3 separate regions of the Homo sapiens genome follow, and all the other regions are linked to region 3. The links are contacts of gene promoters, found by promoter capture Hi-C in blood cells and fetal thymus (Javierre and others, 2016). All regions are on one chromosome and are shown on one strand. Each heading gives the region's core, a stretch centred on a gene start or on the middle of the fragment in contact. The rest is flanking DNA. Distances are from core to core; before and after follow the strand shown.

The links. Contacts are between HindIII fragments. The CHiCAGO score rates a contact against its expected background, and 5 or more counts as called.
Region 1: a fragment that was not itself captured here is called in contact with the fragment with the promoter of DLGAP5 in region 3 in 1 of 17 cell types (activated CD4 T cells); the score reaches 5.8 in activated CD4 T cells.
Region 2: a fragment that was not itself captured here is called in contact with the fragment with the promoter of DLGAP5 in region 3 in 1 of 17 cell types (monocytes); the score reaches 5.1 in monocytes.

What each region holds. Positions count from the first base shown.
Region 1 is chr14:55,433,878-55,436,577 of GRCh38, reverse strand. It overlaps TBPL2 (TATA-box binding protein like 2), which reads left to right. Exons shown (of 7, transcript NM_199047.3): 2 at 1-17; 3 at 644-731. It also overlaps a transcript of FBXO34 not described here. Among named protein-coding and RNA genes, the nearest start is that of TBPL2, 5.4 kb to the left of the region's middle. The HindIII fragment of the contact is 1,007 bases long and covers 852-1,858 here.
Region 2 is chr14:55,045,402-55,048,101 of GRCh38, reverse strand. SOCS4 (suppressor of cytokine signaling 4) reads right to left here. Exons shown (of 3, transcript NM_199421.2): 3 at 1-2,700. Among named protein-coding and RNA genes, the nearest start is that of MAPK1IP1L, 4.9 kb to the left of the region's middle. The HindIII fragment of the contact is 1,074 bases long and covers 781-1,854 here.
Region 3 is chr14:55,190,170-55,192,869 of GRCh38, reverse strand. DLGAP5 (DLG associated protein 5) reads left to right here and starts at 1,285. Exons shown (of 19, transcript NM_014750.5): 1 at 1,285-1,407. It overlaps LOC105370508 (a long non-coding RNA gene), which reads right to left and starts at 1,197. Exons shown (of 2, transcript XR_943888.3): 1 at 1,068-1,197. RefSeq lists enhancers at 989-1,541, 1,542-2,095. The HindIII fragment of the contact is 13,519 bases long and covers 1-2,700 here.

The DNA.
Region 1 (2,700 bases), core at 106-2,605, 240 kb before region 3:
ATTGTACCTCAACTACAGTAAGTTTTTATTTTTGTTTTAATTGAGCACATTGGGTACACATTTTATATTCCTGAATGCGATGACAACTAATTTCAGGATAATAGTAGGGAAGAGAATTTCAGATTTCATAATTCTTTGTTTTATCAGTTCTAAATGGATTGTGGCTTTAGACAGTTTGATTATCTGTAAGGCAAAGCACTAATTCTTGACCTCTAAGGTGGGCGGAGGGGACTTAAAGATTAATAGATGCATTCTTGAAGGATTGTATTGTTTATACTACAGCACTGTAGTTGCTGAAAATTGTGGGTAGGGTTGGATAAACACCAAGGATATAAAGATGTAAAATTGAGTTTGATTTGCAAATTGATTCAGAATTGTAATTTCTATTTTGAGGCATTGTTTTGAAAAAAGATCTAAAACTTAATTTTAGCAGCTAGTCATGAAATTTTAGGAAAGGCTCTTTAGCACTTCACTTTGGGATTTTACACTTAACTAGGAATCATGTCATGTATTTCACATTTGGAATAATTCTCCCCCTAGGAAATTGCTAAGGTATAACCTAAGAAATGAGAAAATAAGTTGTCTTTTTTTTTTTTTACTCTTTATATCTGATATAAGTTTCTAAACTGACTTATTTCTTCAGGAATATAGTTTCCACTGTAAACCTGGCCTGTAAGTTGGATCTGAAGAAAATAGCTTTGCATGCAAAAAATGCAGAATATAACCCAAAGGTAACATTTCTCAGTATTCCTTCCAATAATTAGCTTCTCTTTAGATTTACTTTTCTTAATATGATCATGATATTGACTAATTCCTCTGTTTTTTCTTAAAAAATTGTTACTGAAAAAGCTTTTGGCAACTCAGGGTTAATATCTGTTTTGAGTTATAAAAAATAATCTCATTCTTTATGCTGAATAAAGCAGTAATTGAGCAGTTCCTTAAAGATAAGCTCTCTCCCTTGTCATTCAAAAATATTTTTTAGTATGATTATAATTTTTCACTTAGGCTGGGCACGGTGGCTCACTCCTGTAATCCCAGCACTTTGGGAGGCTGAGGCAGGTGGATCACGAGGTCAGGAGTTTGAGACCAGCCTGACCAACATGGTGAAATCCCGTCTCTACTAAAAATACAAAAATTAGCTGGATGTTGTGGCGGGTGCCTGTAATCCCAGCTACTCAGGAGGTTGAGGCAGGAGAATCACTTGAACCCAGGAGGCAGAGGTTGCAGTGAGCCAAGATCATGCCATTACATTCCAGCCTGGGTAACAGCGAGACTCCGTCTCCAAAAAAAAAAAAAAAATTTCACCTGACTATTGGGATGCTAACTATCTTAAAATGCCATCAAATTTCTGGAAATAATTTTTGCCAAATGTTGTCTCAGCTACCTGACACTTATGTATCTTTCCATTACAATTCCTCTTATCTGAGAAGGCTAAACTGCTTAAAGTATAAAGTTCAAGCTCCTATTTACTAATGTAAGATTCAGGGATTTTTTTTTTCGTCCTCCTCAAAGTTTAATAAAATCTATTCTTTCTTGTATCCTGCCAAGGCCAGGCATCCTGTTTTCAATGGCTTGTTTACCTAGGGTAATTGGGTTTGTCAATCCTATCAACTTTTAACGATTTGCCAGGCTCTGTACTTAGGAGTACAAAGATGAGTAAGACCTGCTTCCTACTGGGAAAAAGTTCACTGGCTTAGGTGGTGGAGGATTTATGGAATTAGATGAAAAAAGGTCACATTCGTAGGAACCCAGAGACCTTGCAGGCATCAACTATTATTTGTTTTTGCTGTTGCCCTAGTATTGTTGCTGACATCTGAATTTAAATGTTACCTCGATGTTACCCGAATACAATAAAGCTTTCCTTTTGATATTTCATACAGCTGACAATGGTGAGGACAGACACAAAGATGAGCTAAGATCCTCACAGCTGCAGCTGTGATCACATTATTGAACAATCAGCATTTTAGGCAACTTTTATTGTCCACCATCCTCAGCACACCTCTCATTTTGGACGAGGGGTAGGGGTGGGCAGGGCTGGGGATGAGTGTATAGGATCTCTCTGAACTTGTGCTTGACACCCAGAGAAATTCTGGCTTGGCCCTTAAGCTAGCACCCACCCCAGTTTCCTTCCTAGCTTAACCGGGGAGAGGAGTTGGGGTGAAGAGACTATCTGTGTAGGAGCAGGCCATTTGATGACACGTCCATGTGGCAGGCCAGAGGTTCCCTACCCTCACGAGTGTCAGCCTCACCTGCAGGGCTTGCTGATGCTGCTGGTCTTGAATGACACTTTGAGAACTATAAGAGGCAAGAACCTTGACATCAACTTTCTGTCATTCATCTTTAGCATGCCTATCATACAGACTCTTCTGCATTTTGGTCATTTTTCAGTACATTCTGAAGTCTTGGTGAGCCTTTAACATACTTATTTTTTTCCCAAAAGATTCTTCAAAAGAAAAAGGAAGTGTGTCAAAGTAAAAAGCAGAGAATCTGATTAGTGTGGGTTTTGAATCTTAACTTTACCACTTCCTGTGTAATATTGGAGGTTATATTGCTACTTGTTTTCCCTGAGCACTAAATGAGGATAATAAACACAAGTTCATCCTATCATGAGAATAAATAGGAACTGAAACATAACAGGCATTCAAATTTAAGAGTTACTGATATTATTTTTACCTGTTAATAAGTACATTTTAGAATCAT
Region 2 (2,700 bases), core at 68-2,567, 140 kb after region 3:
TAAAAATACAAAAATTAGCTGGGCGTGGTGGCACACGCCTGTCATCTCAGCTACTTGGGAGCTGAGGTAGGAGAATTGCTGGAACCTGGAAGGCAGAGGTTGCAGTGAACCGAGATTGCGCCATTGCACTCCAGCCTGGGCTGACAACAGCGAGACTCTGTCTCAAAAAAAAAGAGATCTCAAGGTTTTTGTTTCATAGGAAGGAAGCTCTCTATTGCGTGGATCTATAAAATGATCCAAACTTCAGAGACAGGAAGCTGATAACTGGATTTATCTTCTTAATGGCTTTGGCTCATGAATAAATGATAATGGTTTATGTGTTTTTCTTATAAAAAGAAATGGAATTTGTATACCGATAGGAGTCCTACTTGCCACATTTGTTCTACTTATTAAGGGATTTCTAATTACTGAGACATTCTTTATATTATTTATAATAAGAAGTCAAAACTTTAACTGAAAGCCATTCTTTGACCACAGTTGGCCATTAGCTGAAATTCAGGAAATAGCACAGGTTTGATCACCAAATCAATAAATCTAGCCACAGGCTGACTAAAAGCTTCCTTTAATCTTCTTCCTATTAGGTCTTCCTTTAAATTAAACCATTCCCTTCATGAATTATTTAAGTGAATGGCATGGTTATAGAAAGATCACATATAACTCTATACAAAAATGCTAAAGGAACCTTAAAAAGTCCATTCAGCATACTTCAGGAATTATACTATGAATCAAGATGCTGTAGGCTTAGAAAAAAATGGGAGTGGGAGTATGTCCTGTAAAGCTTCAGAGAAAAATAGAAAAGTCAAGTTTATTTCCTGATTAGCCCAGGATGATTCCCAAAGCGCAGTTAAGTGTCTGGTCCAGACTAGCTATTAGCGATTAAGTAGTTTCTTTTCACTGTCAAGGCTTTTCCCTGAGGTAATGCCTAAATTCCTAATTTTAATATTTGATCTTATTTCTCTTAGCTCCATCCTCTCTCACCAATAAGCTCTCCACATTTCCACCATGCTAAATGCTTTCTCAACTCTGGAATTTACACTGTTCAAATCTTCCCTTTGTTCAACAGTTATAAAATTTTAGACAAATTTATACATTCCCACATTGTTCCTCTCAAAATTTACTCATTTATATAGTGCAATCAATATATTGTTTACATTTTATATAGGTTAGTTTCTGAATACTGTATGTTCTTCCAAATGTATCCTTACAAAGACACAGAGGAAGGGGGTAACCTTTCTGAATTCCAATTCCTTAATGTTTTAAAAAAAATTATTACTCTTTTCTTTTCCCTTAAACAATTCCCTTCTCAAGTCTTTATGTATCTACTTTCCAAACTTCTTTTCACTGTAGCAAATACCAAAGGAAAAATAAAAATCATTTCAGAGTCAATGAATCTCCTCCCTGCTCTCATTTATTAGATCAACTACTTCAAGGCTACATATGTGGCAGTACTTTTTAAGTGTTAACAGCTGTTAATACCTTGAAGTTGAAAAAATAAAAAAGCCAGAGAAAACATATCACAAGCAATCAGTTTGAATTATATGAAAAGGTACTTAGATCTTGACTTTCATATAAATACTAATTTTAACACTATAAAAGACAACATAACTATATATCATTTTTCTTTATAAAACTACCCCTTAACAGAATATTTGTAAGCTAGTCATCCCTTAGGTTTTTCTGTACTGATAAAAAGTTATTTTTAAAAGAAAAATATTTAAAATAATTGTTTCACAGAAACAGAAAATCTTATCAAATTCTGATAAAAAACTATAATCATGGGTACTCTTACCACACTATTTTCTTTCACCAAAGATGGATATTTAGGAAGTGGTATATTGGTTAATAAGATAAGCTTCTCAGTGATCTACAAAAGCGCCACAATAAAGATGAGGTAGTATGAGACTTTTCTAACCTTGTAAAAGGTAAATATCGTCTTTAGAAGAGATATTTATCCTGACATTGGTGTTATGATATCCGATATCCTGAGCCTCATCACTGCTAAGAGGTGCCATTTTTGTAGCTACATCTCATTGAGACTAAGACAATCTTGAGATCACTGAGGAAAAAAAAAATGCTAAAAGATAACGGTAATAGAGATTTTCCTTAATTTTGTAATAATTACTAAAAAATTATTTTAAAGCTATTATGGAAAAATGCCATTTTCATGTTAACAGAACTGCAAGATAGGGAAATGCTACTCACATAAAAGCAACAATAATGAAGAAATATTTGTTCTAACTTGGAAGTTTATGAGTCAAATTTCTTTCAATCTAGGTAGAAGCAGTTTCCTAATATAGCTAAACTAGCATCAAGAAATCAGTTACGATATTAAAAATGTCAATGTGTACAAAGGGTTAGACAGCTCACCAGAAGAAAATTGTCTATCTACATTTATTATTCATTGATTCCTTAAAAAAAGAAGATAGGATACCACTCCATTTATTTTTACTAGTTACTTTGGGCTAAAGATGTTTCTAAAAACGTTGCCCTGTTTCTGGGATAGTAAATTTAAAATATCACCCCTTTTGTCCAGTACTGTTCTGTATGGTGTAAGTCATGTAGCTGTCAAAAGGCTTTCTTTTTTTGAAGCCACATTACAGACTAAGTTAATTCTGAAGATAGGGATAATTATTTGGATCTTGTAGATCAAAAACAGTATTAAGCTTCCTGAATACTGAGCTCCATGTTTATTTCTGGAAT
Region 3 (2,700 bases), core at 36-2,535:
CTATAGTCCCAGCTATTCAAGAGGCCAAGGCTGCAATGAGCTATGATTGTGCCACTGCTCTCTAGCCTGGGGGACGGAGAGACCCTGCTTCTAAAAAAAAAAAAAAATTTTAAGTTAAACATACCCAGAATGACCCAGAAATTCCACTCCTGTATTTCCTCAAGATAAATAAAATATGCCCACAAGGACTTGTACGAGAATGGTTATAGCAACTTTGCTCATCATCACCAAAAATTGAAAGCAATACAAATCCATCAACTGGTGAATGCATAAAGTATTCAATGGAATGCCTCTCAATAACAAACACTACTAACTTCTGGTTCACGCAGACCCAAAAGAGTACCTATCACCTTCATTTTTATAGTGCTAGAAATAAGAGGAGTGGTTGCTGATGTGGTGGGAGATGGACAGGAAAGAAACAGGCCACTCTTCTGAGTGATGGAAATGCTCTACGTCCTGATTGGGTGGTAGTTACACAGCTGTTTACATTTACCAAACTCATCAAATTGTCCACTGGGGGGGAAAAACTATTATTTTCACTGTATACGAAAACTTCGCCTCAACAAAAAATGAACTAAAAAAGAAAAAAAAGGGGAGGGGGGCTGGCGACGTTGAAAAGTAACGCTAAACTATGTAAGGATTTGATAATTGGGGTAAGCCTTTTCTTTAAAACGTCTAGTAAAGAAAACATTCCAAGAAGGTCTGCTAGATTCTGTGACTAAACAAGGACATTAAAAAGCCCTGAATCCAGCTTGGTCAACGTAGTGAGGCCCTGTCTCTACGGAATTTTTTTAAAGTTAGCCAGGCGTAGTGGTGCGCGCCTATAGTCCCAGCTACTCGGGAGGCTGAGGTGGGAGGATGGTTTGAACACAGCAGCTCAAGGCTGCAGTGAGCAGTGGTCGGTGCCCACTATACTCCAGCCTAAGGGACAGAGACCTTGTCTCAAAAAAAAGAAAAAAGAAAAAAAAAAAAAGCCTTGCGAGCTCTGGGGGAGATTTCCCGCAGCCCAGCTTTGCCAGGGACCCAGCCTCACCCCTCGGGCTCCACCGCCCACTCCCGCCCTTCACCTGACGTGAGCGCCCCGACTGCTCCACTCCTTCTCATCCCGCGTCGCGGTCCCGCCTATTTTCCCTCTCTCACCCATCTTTTGAACTGGCCCTTCACCTTTCAATCAATTCAAATATCGCACGGAGCAAACCAATCGCAAGCCTCGTTGAGTGGAAGGGGTGGGATCTTCCCCGGAAGTGTTGGTTAAAGCCCCTCCAATCAGCGGCTCGGTGCGGCAAGTTTGAATTTCGTGGAGGCTCGGGTTGTGAGGGTTCCTGCTTCGGAGTCGGCGGTGGTCGTCCAGACCGAGTGTTCTTTACTTTTTGTTTGGTTGAGGTTTCACGCTAGAAGGTGGCTCAGGTAGGTGGGTGCTGGAGAGCTGGACGGAGAACACTGGCCCGCTTCCGTTGAAGGTCTAGAAGGGTCTGAGGACCGGGGGCTGCGAGCGGGAGCAAGTCAGAGGCAGGCTCCTTTAGGACCGTGTTACCTGCCCTTCCCGAAGCTGATAATGCGAGCCTTTAGAAGAGTCCATATGTTTGCCCTGACCTCTGTAATAGTCAGCGTTTCACCACCGGGGCGTAATTGACCTTTGGGGTGAAACTGTTCTTCACTAGCTCCGACATTAAATTCCCGTAGCTCTTCCCAGGTCCCATGGCAACTAAAAACGCCCGGTTGAGAACCTCTAGTCAAGCAAGATTAACGCATTCTGGACTTTCAAGCTGGAGGAAACGCCACTCAGCCAAACAAAATTTAGGTGTGTGTGGAGCCAGGGCTGCCTTGCTTGGGATCCCAGCTTCACCACCTTTTAGATATGCTAATGTGAGCAGTTAATTGACCTCATCTGTATGAGAGCGATAATAGTTAACTACCTTTCAGGGTTATTCTGATAATTGTACCTTTAATGTTGTCCTCGCTCGCTCTTTCTCTTGCTGTGGATAGTGCTATCCTGTATTTAATACATAAGTCTTAATTTTTCTTCAATCTTTAGCGAATTAATATTGCAGGAGATAAATAGTAGAAGACAGTTCTTTATGAAAAGCACAGTCCATTGTCACTTTCCTTGGGTCTTAGAGGAGAATGTTATTAGCATGCAGGTCAGACAGATTCTCGTTTTTTATATTTTGTTGATTGCTTAGAATCATGTAACAATGTATTGCATTACTTGTGCCAATTTTTCTATTATCTGGAGTTTTCTAGTGGATTTAGTTAATTCTTGTTGAAGAATATACCATAGTGTGTCTATCACAGAGCCTCCCCCTTACCTTTTTTTGTTTTTGTTTTTTAACTGCCAAGACTTCTGAGAATCAGTATCCTTTCTCCAGTTTGGCTTGGTAGTTCTCTATACCAGCTACACAGGTGACCCCCTCAAACTTTCTAATTTTCTTTGTTCTCCCTAGTTGGATCTACTGACGTCGTCTTTATTGTCCTCTTTTGTTTTGCTTGAATACATTCTCAAAGATCTTTCCAAGAAAAAGGCATGTGCCAATTAAACTATATGATTTTGTGCGTGTGTGTGTGTGTGTGTGTGTGTGTATGGCTTTTCTTTTTTAAAATTTATAGAGACGGGGTCGTGTTATGTTGCCCAGGCTGGTCTCAAACTCCTGGGCTCAAGCAGTCCTGCCTCGACCTCCCAAAGTGGTAGGATTACAGGCC